Regions from separate parts of the Homo sapiens genome. Here region 1 is linked to region 2. The links are contacts of gene promoters, found by promoter capture Hi-C in human tissues and cell types (Jung and others, 2019). All regions are on one chromosome and are shown on one strand. The core of a region is centred on a gene start or on the middle of the fragment in contact, and the rest is flanking DNA. Distances in the headings are between cores, read along the strand shown.

Region 1 (4,174 bases), core at 31-2,530, 45 kb before region 2:
AAAGCATAGTGCTAGGCAATTGGGAGAGCGTACATAAATAAGTCATAGGCCATGCTTTGAATGGAGCTTACAGTCTAGTAAAGCATATAAATTCACAATGAATCATAACAGAATGATACAAGCATGTATGTGAAAGGCACTGAACTGAAAATTGCTGATGGAACAAGCCAGCACCCACCCCATTAGCCTCCACATTTTTTTTTTTTTTTTTTTTTTGAGACGGAGTCTCGCTCTGTCACCCAGGCTGGAGGGCAGTGGCGCCATCTCGGCTCACTGCAAGCTCCGCCTCCCGGGCTCACGCCATTCTCCTGCCTCAGCCTCCCGGGTAGCTGGGACTACAGGCGCCCGCCACCACGCCCAGCTAATTTTTTGTATTTTTAGTAGAGACGGGGTTTCACCATGTTAGCCAGGATGGTCTTGATCTCCTGACCTCGTGATCCACCCGTCTCAGCCTCCCAAAGTGCTGGGATTACAGGCGTGAGCCACTGTGCCCAGCCCTTTTTTTTTTTTTTTTTAGACGGAGTCTTGCTCTGTTGCCCAGGCTAGAGTGCAGTGGTGCAAACTCGGCTCACTGCAACCTTGGCCTCCCGGGTTCAAGTGATTCTCCTGCCTCAGCCTCCCGAGTAGCTGAGATTACAGGCACCCGCCACTTTGCTCGGCTAATTTTTGTATTTTTAGTAGAGACGGGATTTCACCATCTTGGCCAGGCTGGTCTCGAACTCCTGACCTCATGATCCAACCACCTCTGCCTCCCAAAGTGCTGGGATTACAGGCATGAGCCACCACGCCCGCCCTAGCCCCTACTTCTATGTATGTGTTATACTGCAGAGTTTCACCAGCTCAATGCCACCCCCAAGGGTCCTGCGAGCAGGAGAATACACCATTTGCCATGTCTCTTAGCTAGTGACATGCACATCTATCTCTCTAACCCTTTAATCAATATTGTAAAGCATATACTATGGGCAAAACACTAACCTCAAAGCTTTCAAGGAATAAAGACAAACAATGTGGCAGGAAAAGTCACAAAATTAGAAGGCAATGAGGCCGGGAGCAGTGGCTCACACCTGTAATCCCAGCAGTTTGGGAGGCCGAGGTGGGTGGATCACGTGAGGCCAGGAGTTCAAGACCAGCCTGGCCAACATGGCAAAACCCTGTCTCTACTAAAAATACAAAAATTAGCCGGGCTTGGTGGCACATGCCTATAGTCCCTGCTACTTGGGAGGCTGAGGCATGAGAATTGTTTTCTGTTTTGTTTTGTTTTGTTTTGTTTTGAGACGGAGTTTTGCTCTTGTTCCCCAGGCTGAGTGCAATGGAGCAATCTCGGCTCACCACAACCTCCGCCTCCCGGATTCAAACGATTCTCCTGCCTCAGCCTCCCGAGTAGCTGGGATTACAGGCATGCGCCACTACACCCAGCTAATTTTGTATTTTTAGTAGAGATGGGGTTTCTTCATGTTGGTCAGGCTGGTCTTGAACTCCTGACCTCAGCTGATCTGTCCGCCTCGACCTCCCAAAGTGCTGGGATTACAGACATGAGCCACCAGGCCCAGCCGAAGAGAATTGTTTGAAACTGGAAGGCGGAGGTTGCAGTGATCCAAGATGGTGCCACTGCACTCCAGCCTGGGTGACAGAGTAAGACTAAGTCTCAAAAAAAAAAAAAAAAAAAAAGGCTGGGCTTGGTGGCTCACGCCTGTAATCCCAGCACTTTGGGAGGCCGAGGCGGGCAGATCACTAGGTCAGGAGATCAAGACCATCCTGGCTAACACGGTGAAACCCCGTCTCTACTAAAAATATAAAAAATTAGCCAGGCATGGTGGTGGGCTTCTGTAGTCCCAGCTACTCAGGAGGCTGAGGCAGGAGAATGGCGTGAACCCGGGAGGCGGAGCTTTCGACCGAGCGAGACTCGTCTCAAAAAAAAAAAAAAAAAAGAGGAAGGAGAAGAAAGAAGAAGGAGGAGGAGGATGAGGAGGCAGCAGTGAGATATTCAGAGGAAGGAGATGTTTGAACAGAGGTGGTGGAAAAAAAACTACAGTTACAGGCTAGGTGTGGTGGCTCACACCTATAATCCCAGCACTTTGGGAGGCCGAGGTGGGGGGATTGCTTGAGCCCAGGAGTTCAAGACCAGCCTGGCCACCATGGCAAAACCCTTTCTCTACAAAAAATACAAAAATTAACTAGGCATGGTGTCGGGCACTTATAGTCCCAGCTACTTGGGAAGCTGAGGTGGGGGGATCGATTGAGACTTGGGAGGTCAAGGCTACAGTAGCCAAGATTGCACCACTGCACTCCAGCCTGGGCGAAAGAATGAGATCCTGTCTCAAAAAACAAAAACAACAACAACAACAAAAAAAAAAGGCGGGAGCTCTAGCCTCCTAATTGTGGCTGGGCGTGTGGGCATGGTGGCTCATGCCTGTAGTCCCAGCCCTTTGGGAGGCTAAGGCGAGAGGATGACTTGAGCCCAAGAGTTCAAGGCTGCAGTTAACTATGATTATTACACCACTGCGCTCCAGCGTGGTCAACAGATTGAGACTCTGTGTTTAAATGAATAGAACAAAAACAAACAAACAAACAAAAAACCTGGGCTGCATGAATCTGTTAAGAAAAGTCAGGTCAGCTGGGCGTGGTGGCTCACACCTGTAATCCATCCCAGCACTTCAGGAGGCTGAGGCGGGTGGATTGCCTGAGGTCAGGAGTTCAAGACCAGCCTGACCCACATGGTGAAACCCTGTCTCTACTAAATACAAAAAATTAGCCGAGAGTGGTGGTGCATGCCTGTAATCCCAGCTACTTAGGAGGCTGAGGCAGGAGAATCGCTTGAACCGGGGAGGCTGAGGTTGCAGTGAGCCCAGATTGCACCATTGCACTCCAGCCTGGGCAACAAGAGTGAAACTCCATCTCAAAAAAGAAAAGAAAAGTCAGGCCAGGCACGATGGTTCGTGCCTATAATCCCAGCACTTTGGGAGGCTGAGGAGGGCAAATCACCTGAGGTCAGGAGTTCAAGACCAGCCTGACCAACATGGTGAAACTCCCTCTCTACTAAATACAAAAAAATTAGGCGGGTGTGGTGGCACATGCCTGTAATCCCAGCTACTTGGGAGGCTGAGGCAGGAGAATCGCTTGGACATGGGAGGCAGAGGTTGCAGTGAGCTGAGATCACATCACTGCACTCCAGCCTAGGGGACAAAGTGAGACTCCATCTAAAAAGGGAAAAGCCAAGCTTTTATTTCTTTTTTTCTTTTTTTTAGCAGGAGAAGCAGATGCCACACTCAGAGCAGGACTGAGGCTTCTCACCTGTATGCGTGTGCCTATGAATGGCCAAGGGAGCCTCTTTGGTGCACGCACCACACACAGTCAAAGCACCAGTAGGGCTTCTCTCCTGCATGGATAAGCTGGTGCTGGAGCAAGTTTCCCAGTCAGCAAGGGGAGTGCCACACTGTAGGCAGTGGTGGCAGTGCTCACCCAAGTGCATGTGCCTGGTGGTGGCCACAAGGGAGGGGAATGCAAACTGGCACCCACATCTGTGCACACATCCGCATATGTGCGTGGACAGCGCCCTCCTCAGGTGGAAGAGGTGGCTGCAGTCGGAGCCCTTGCAGAGCTCGTCCCCTGTGTGGGGGCAGCTGGTGCTGGACCAGGTGAGCTCTCTGGGAGAATTAGACACTGCATGACCCACAAATGTGGCTGTCGGTTCGGGACTGAACAAAGGAGGACGAACGCAGAAATGGAGACAAAGAAAAGGATCTGTTTTAAAGAAAGTGTCGGGGGCTCCTTGCTTCTAGGGAATAAGGGCCCTGAGCTTCTACAGCCCTTCATATTTATTAGGTAGAATCAACAGGGACTAAGAGGTAGTAGTTGGTCAGCTGCTTGATTTAGCACAGGCTCACATAATTGCTTTCTTTATACAACAGGCTCCAGATGTTCCTATAGATAACTACAAGGAACAACTGCACCTGGTGTGTGACTGTCCTCAGCATTCCTTCTGGTGGCAGACGCAGTTGTCAGCTTGCCAACATCCTGCATTCATGAGAACAGTTTGCTGTTTGCTCATATAGCCTCCAGTGGTATACTGAGTTGGTCACGACCCTCATTCTTTTGGCCTCCAACATCTCCCCCTTTCTGTTTTTGCATTAGTTGAATAAAGGTAATTGCAGGCTGTGCAGCTCTCAATTGCCAG
Region 2 (7,221 bases), core at 4,183-6,682:
ACCCCTGGCCCAGAGGAGGGCCCTTCACAAAAGGTGGACCGGGCCCCCCAGCCCACCCTGGTGGTGATGCTGGAAGACATCGCCAGTCCTAGACCCCCCGCTGAGGTATGGGAACTGAGGGTACGGATGTCAAGGGTTCTGCTGGGTTCCAGCAGGGATAGAAGGGTAGGAGGCCTGAGTCTTAGGTGGGTTTTTCTTGGGGTGAGGAGGATGGCATTTTAGGCGGCAGACACTGCCTGAGCAAAGACTATATAAAAACGTCTTTGGCGTGAACCCAAGCAGCTATCCGGGAACTGAAAGAGTCAGGATGTGGGGCACTAAGGGGGCTTTCCTGCCTCCCCACAAACATCCCCTATTTTTATCCAGGGCTTCATTGATGAGACCCCCAACTTCATCATCCCAGCACAAAGGTGAGAGGGCTGGAGTAGGGATTATCAAAGGATCCAGGCAACAGCCATCATCCAGGTAGCCAGAGCTAGGGGCATCGGGACTGACTGATCCAATCCTTCCTTGTGGCATCTTAAAAAGCCTTAAGGGGCCGGGCACGCCCATGCCTAATGCCAGCACTTTAGGAGGCCAAGGCAGGAGAATCGCTTGAGCCCAGGAGTTTGAGGCCAGCCTGGGCAACCACATCACTGTGACCATATCTCTACAAAACGTTTTGTTTATTTATTTGTTTGTTTTTGAGATGGAGTTTTTGCTCTGTTGCCCAGGCTGGAGTGCAATGGTGCGATCTCAGCTCACTGCAACCTCTGCCTCCTGGGTTCAAGTGATTCTCCTGCCTCAGCCTCCCGAGTAGCTGGGATTACAGGCATCCGCCACAATGCCCGGCTAGTTTTTGTATGTTTAGTAGAGACGAGGTTTCACCACGTTGGCCAGGCTCTTGAACTCCTGACCTCAGGTGATCCACCCACCTCGGCCTCCCAAAGTGCTGGGATTACAGGCGAGAGCCACCATGCTCAGACAAGATATTGTTTTAAATTAGTTGGATGTGGTGGTCCATGCATGTAGTTCTAGCCACTTGGGAGGCTGAGGTGGGAGGACTGCCTGAGCCTGGGAGTTCAAGGCTGCAGTGAGCTGAGATTGTGCCCCTGCACTCCAGCCTGGGCCACAGAGCAAGGCTCTGTCTCAAAAAAAAAAAAAAAGAAGAAGCCTTAAGGGATAGGGGAGTTGCTGGCTCAGGTGGGATACCTGGAAGTTCCCCTAGCCTTTACCTTGCCCTTCACCCCAGAGCTGAGCCCATGAGGATAGTTCGCCAGCCAACGCCTCCACCTGGGGACCTAGAACCCCCATTCCAGCCATCTGCTCTGCCTGCAGACCCTCTGGAGAGCCCACCAACAGGTAAGGACTTGGGTAGAGATCGGATGAGACTTGGGTGTCTGGGACATCCTAGTTGAGCTTGGAAGTGTCAGGTACAGAGTTGGGGATAGGGCTTAAGCCACCTCCCAGGGCAGGGCTTGGTATATAAAGATGGGATGTTGATGTCAGAGGCTTGAAGTTCAATTCTTAAATGCAGAACTTAGTGTTTTAAGGGTGGGCTAATTCCCCTGTGCACAAAGTTGAGCATGTGGGGAGGGGCTGAGACACTGCAGCCAAGGAATATCCACCTGTGACCCTCTCCTTTCCTCAGCCCCAGATCCTGCTCTGGAGCTCCCATCCACCCCACCACCGTCCAGCCTTTTACGCCCCCGCCTCAGTCCCTGGGGCTTGGCCCCGCTCTTCCGTTCCGTCCGCTCCAAGCTGGAGAGCTTTGCTGACATCTTCCTCACGCCCAACAAAACCCCACAGCCCCCACCCCCGTCCCCCCCAATGAAGCTGGAGTTGAAGATCGCCATCTCAGAGGCCGAGCAGTCTGGGGCTGCTGAGGGCACTGCGTCTGTCAGCCCCCGGCCCCCAATCCGCCAGTGGCGAACTCAGGACCACAATACCCCAGCACTTCTCCCTAAGCCCTCTCTGGGCCGAAGCTACTCCTGCCCTGATCTGGGGCCCCCTGGCCCAGGTACCTGCACCTGGCCACCTGCTCCACCCCAACCAAGCCGACCACGGCCGCGGCGGCACACTGTGGGTGGTGGGGAAATGGCCCGAGCCCCGCCACCCCCTCGGCCCTGTCTCCGGAAAGAGGTCTTCCCTCTCGGAGGAGTGGGAGCCTCCCCTTCTCTCACCACATCTTGCTCGTCCACGGCATCCACTTCCTTCTCCGAACCAGCAGAACCCAGGTAGTGCTCTCAAAAAACCCCCTTGAAGCCTGGCTGCAGCCTGGTCCCAGCCTCCTTCCCTGAGTATCCAGTGGGCAGGAGACGGGGGATAATGCAGTGAATCCTGTTTGTCCCTGAGCCTTGACCTTCTTGGCAGGTTGGGTTCAACCAAAGGGAAGGAGCCAAGAGCCTCAAAGGACCAGGTGCTTTCAGAACCTGAGACCAAGGTAGGCATTCAGATCGGGTAGAAGAGACTAGTGGGGGCCTGAGCCCATGTCACTCTTTCACCCTCTGCCCCATTTTTGCAGACCATGGGAAAGGTTTCTCGATTCAGAATACGCAGAACACCAGCCCGTCCTCAGCTAAACCTTACACCAATGGGACTGCCTCGACCAATCAGGTGAGGGGCTCACTGGGCATTGAGCCATCTTGGCCAAACAGATGCAGGCTTATGTCCCCTGAAGTATAGCTTTGTCTCCCCTCAGGGAGCACAGTCCAGCCTGAAAGATTCAATTCGGTGTGGGGATGGTTTGTGCTCAAAATTGCCTGTCTGCCTTATGTAGCACTCCTGGCCCTGACATGTCCCAGAAACTGAAATACAGACCAGGCCTTACCTGTCCCTTCAGGCCCCACTGGCCCAAGGTTTCTCAGTGGCCTCTGCTCTTTGCTCACAGGTTGAACAAGAAGGAGTTCAGCTTGGAAGAAATTTACACCAACAAGAATTACCAATCACCCACAACCAGGAGGTGAGACACTTGGAAGGCTAGAGGGTGGCAGAGGGAAATCTGGAGCTGTGGAGCACCCTGATAAAACCAGCTCCTCTCCCTGCCTTGTTCAGGACCTTTGAGACCATCTTTGAGGAACCCCGGGAGCGCAATGGGACTCTGATTTTCACCAGCTCAAGGAAGCTCCGGCGGGCTGTGGAATTTCGGGACAGCAGCCTTCCTCGATCACGAAGACCGTCCCGTGGGGTCCGGGCTGCAGGGGGCAGGACTGTTCCTCCCAATGTGGCCCCCAGCCCTGATGTGGGCCCCCTGCTCCAGCAGCGGCTGGAGGAGCTAGATGCCTTGCTCCTGGAGGAAGAAACAGTAGATCGGGAGCAGCCCCACTGGACCTAGGTGCCCCATCTGTTGGTCATCCATCCTGAAGGGACAGGAAACCTCCCAGGCAGTTATTTTTTTTTCTCTATATTTCTAGTAAAGTTTTCGATATGTTTCTGATTCTTTTGTATCTCTAGCTGAGTTTAAGATTGATTTGGCTGATGTTTCTACGTTGACCCCCAAAGGTCTGGGAACTGGGGCTGGTGCTAGAGATGGTGACAGGGGTTGGGTACAGAGTACAGGGAGGGGGTGAAGTGGTCACTTGAGATAGATAGATAGATAGATAGATAGATAGATAGATAGATAGATGATAGATATAGATGGAGTTCCGCTCATGTCACTCAGGCTGGAGTACAATGGCACGATCTTGGCTCACTGCAACCTCTGTCTCCCTCATTCAAGCGATTCTCCTGCCTCAGCCTCCCAAGTATCTGGGATTACAGGCGTGCGCTACCACACCCGCTAATTTTTGTATTTTTAGTAGAAACTGGGCTTCACCATGTTGGCCAGGATGGTCTTGAACATCTGACCTCAGGAAATCCGCCTGCTTTGGCCTCCCTAAGTGCTGGGATTACAGGCATGAGCCACCATGCCCGGCCTAGAGATACTCTCTTGCTTAGAGGATTCTCCTGTGTGGAGGGACACTTCTGAATCAGTGCCAGATGATACTGTGACCCTAGACCGTGGTCTGGGTTCTCCCAATTCATTTATATCAAGGAGACTGAAAGGCCTATAGTGGGTCAAGGCCTTGAAGATCAAGATGGCCCTGAATTCCTGCTAACATGCAGGCCAGGACCTGCTGCTGGATTCAAGAGCTACGGCTAGGCCAGGTGCGGTGGCTTACGCCTGTAATCCCAGCGCTTTGGGAGGCCGAGGCAGGTGGATCACAGGAGCCTAGGAGTTCGAGACCAGCTTGGCCAACATGGTGAAACCCCGTCTCCACTAAAAATACAAATATTAGCTGGGTGTCTTGGTGTGTACCTGTAATCCCAGCTACTCAGGAGGCTGAGCCAGGAGAATTCACTTGAACCCGAGAGGCAGAGGTTGTAATGAGCTGAGATCGCACCACTGCACTCCAGCTTAGGGAACACAGCCAGACTCTGTCCCCCCCAAAAAAACAAAACAAAACAAAGAGCTAAGAGTAATGGGCCATAATGAAGCACTCACGACGACTGTCATAGGTGCTTGACCTGCACATGTCCCTGCGACAGGGAATTAGTCATTTTATGGACGAGAAAGCAAGGCAGGCATGTCAGCGCGCTGTCCACTTTTAAAACGGTAACCCGGGCAACCGAAGGCCAGAAATGGCTGTCTCTTTTTTTTTAAGCCAGTCACATTGAGCAGTGGGGTGCATCTTTCATAACTGAGAGGCATCACAGGGCAGTGGCTGACATAGACGTGGCTAGGAGACTACCAGCCCGTCTGTGCGCGCATTCCTTTCCGTCCCAGTAAAATGGGGCTGACAGCATCTCCTTCATGGAATTATTACCAAACGCAGTCACAAACGCGGAGAAGCGCTCATGCAGGTGCAAGGCGTTTTCGAATTGCTAGCACTCGGGACCGCTGCCAGCAGCCGCGCCTGGAAGGGACGCGGCTGCCTGTTAGTGCGGCCGGCGCAGGCGCAGGCACAGCACGCGGCCGCTCGGGCCACCCCGGGCCGCGGAACGACTCGCAAGCAGCCAGCCTGACGGCGGCGCCGCCACGCGCGTGCGCGAGACGCCAGGCTGTCTGTGGGCCGCGCCGAGCGGCGGAAAGGCGGCGATGACTTAACTGGCTGTGGAACGGAACCTCTTGCAGCCGCGCGCCCCCCGGCGGCCAACCGCCCCCAACGCCTCAGGCCCCGCGTCTCCGCCCCTCGCCTCGACGCCATCAGGAGACCGGCCAATAAACAAACAGCAGGAAGAGGCGGGGCCCTGTAGTAACCGCCCCAAACACCTACTTCTAACCAGTCGAGTCACAAGACTGGGGGGAAGGGCGGAGCCAATCCGACGTAACCCAATCCAAGATTTGAGGGCGGTTACATGCACCCACTCCCTCGGGTTTGGCTCCGCCCCTCACCTTGACGTAGCCCTCCCAGCCTATCAACGACTGCGCCCGTTGGGGGTGAGGGGAAGGGGGCGGAGCGTGGGAGGAGGCCGAGAGAGGAAGGAGGCGTAGGCTGAGGAGGAAGAGGGAGGAGGGGTAGGGAAGTCCTGGCGGAGAAGCGCCCTAAGACTCCAAAGGAGACAACAGGAGTTTGTGCTGGAGCTCCCCCGCTGCCCATCGGCCGTTCCGGATCCCCTAAGGCCCAAGTCGGACAGAGACGGAGGAAAGGAGGAAGAGACTTTTATGTCGGCGGACAGGGGAGCTGTACCCGTCACCGTTGCCTCACATCCGGGGCTTTGGAGGGCTGGCCTCGCTGCCCCGCCCCGCCTCGCGCCTTTCATGGCGACCGGAGGCGGAGGCTGGAGGAGCTGGGCCCGGAGGAGGCCCCTTTAAATCTCCTTAAAGGGGTGGCCACTGAACTCGGCGGACTGCAACGCCAGCCTTAAAGGGGAAGCCGCCGAGCAGACGCTGACAAATTGAGAACTGTGCCGTTGGGAGAACTGGGGCGAGTGGGGTTTTTCTTTACGTCCTCCTCCCCCACACACAAGAAGTCTTTTAAATTCAACTTAAAGGGGAAGTGGCCGCTTGTGGAGGACTAGAAACTAACTCCGAGCCCTTAAAGGGACGGCCTGCTGTTAGAAGGACCCTGGACTCCTTAAAGGGGTGGCCTCTTTGAGCCGGAGGACTTGAGACACTTTTAAAGGGGAGGTCTGCGTTTCGGGGCGAGCTTTCGGCCCCTTTTAAAGGGGTGGCCCTTCCTCTTCCTCGGGGAGACTTGCATCGACCCCTGGCAGGGGGTGGCCACCGCACTAGGCCGCCGGACACTGTCGGGTCGTCTTAAAGGGGCCGGGAGCTGGACAACTTGGGGCCTCGCCTTAAAGGGACGGCCGCCCCGTTTTCGCCGTCGCGGCCCCGCCGAGCCCGCAGGGGGGGCCCTCGGGCTTGTCGCCCCGGGGGCGGCGCCGGCTCCCCGGGCCGTGGCCTTGGGGCAAGCTCGGGGCCAGCAGATCCGGCTTTAAAGGAGAAGCCGTGGCCCTCTCGTCACTGTGCAGCCGCCAGCGCCGCGCCTGCGACCCCGGGCCTGCGGACAGGCCGCTTCGGGCCCCGCCGCCTCCGGATGCGGCGCTGAGGGCGGTCGCCATGGAGACGGCAGCGGCCGCGGCCCCGGGTCCGGGCTGGGCAGCAGAGGGGGAGCGCCGACGGCGGCGCTGCTCGCGCCGAGACCGAGACCGGGAGCAGCGGCGCCGCCGAGGTCCAGGCGGCGACGCGCCCCGGGCCCTGTTGGCCGCCCCGCGCGGCTCCTCGTCCTCGTCGTCGCCGCCGCCGCCCGCCAGGCCTTGGTCGTCAGCTTCGTCTGGAGAGCGGCCTGGGGGCCCGAGACGCCGGCGGCCCCGTCCGAGACCTCGACCCCCGCGACCCCGAGCTCGGAAGCGGCCTGCCGGCTCGGGCAGCCGCGGGGAGGAAGAGGAGGAGGAGGAGGAGGAGGGGGGCGCAGACGACGGCGAAGCCGAGGAGGAGCCTGAGGAGGAGGAAGAGGAGGAGGAGGACTTGATCGATGGCTTCGCCATCGCCAGCTTCGCCACCCTCGAGGCCTTGCAGGTGGGGCCTAATGGGGCTAGGAGACTTTGGGGGTTTCCGAGGGGCAGCAAGGAGGGGGCAGTGCCCCTAGTGGGTGGAGTTGAGGGGGGAATGCTGGCACCCCAAACCAGAGCAACCGGCTCCTCTGGCCAGGCCTCTGCCCCGCCCTGGGGTGGGAGGAGGTAGAGCTCGTCTCTGGGGACCCGGTTTCCCGGCCCGAGGGGTACTTCGGCAACCTGGTCACCCCTAGAGGGGTTGGGAGC

What was found. The method cuts DNA at HindIII sites, captures the fragments that hold promoters and counts their contacts. A contact is called where the count stands out against the background at its distance.
Region 1: a contact is called between a fragment that was not itself captured here and the fragment with the promoter of FBRS in region 2, in 1 of the 25 tissues and cell types used here (H1 embryonic stem cells).

What each region holds. Positions count from the first base shown.
Region 1 is chr16:30,612,007-30,616,180 of GRCh38, forward strand. It overlaps LOC124903678 (a long non-coding RNA gene), which reads left to right. Exons shown (of 2, transcript XR_007065051.1): 2 at 3,246-4,167. Among named protein-coding and RNA genes, the nearest start is that of ZNF689, 3.7 kb to the left of the region's middle. RefSeq lists a silencer at 3,613-3,853. The HindIII fragment of the contact is 7,596 bases long and covers 1-4,174 here.
Region 2 is chr16:30,652,999-30,660,219 of GRCh38, forward strand. It overlaps FBRS (fibrosin), which reads left to right and starts at 5,433. Exons shown (of 18, transcript NM_001105079.3): 1 at 5,433-6,979. The coding sequence starts at 6,521. It overlaps PRR14 (proline rich 14), which reads left to right. Exons shown (of 12, transcript NM_024031.5): 5 at 1-105; 6 at 367-410; 7 at 1,232-1,341; 8 at 1,631-2,216; 9 at 2,353-2,422; 10 at 2,504-2,595; 11 at 2,870-2,941; 12 at 3,034-3,415. The coding sequence ends at 3,313. RefSeq lists silencers at 4,849-5,108, 5,139-5,218, 5,269-5,448, 6,269-6,498, 6,569-6,618 and an enhancer at 5,699-6,148. The HindIII fragment of the contact is 17,048 bases long and covers 1-7,221 here.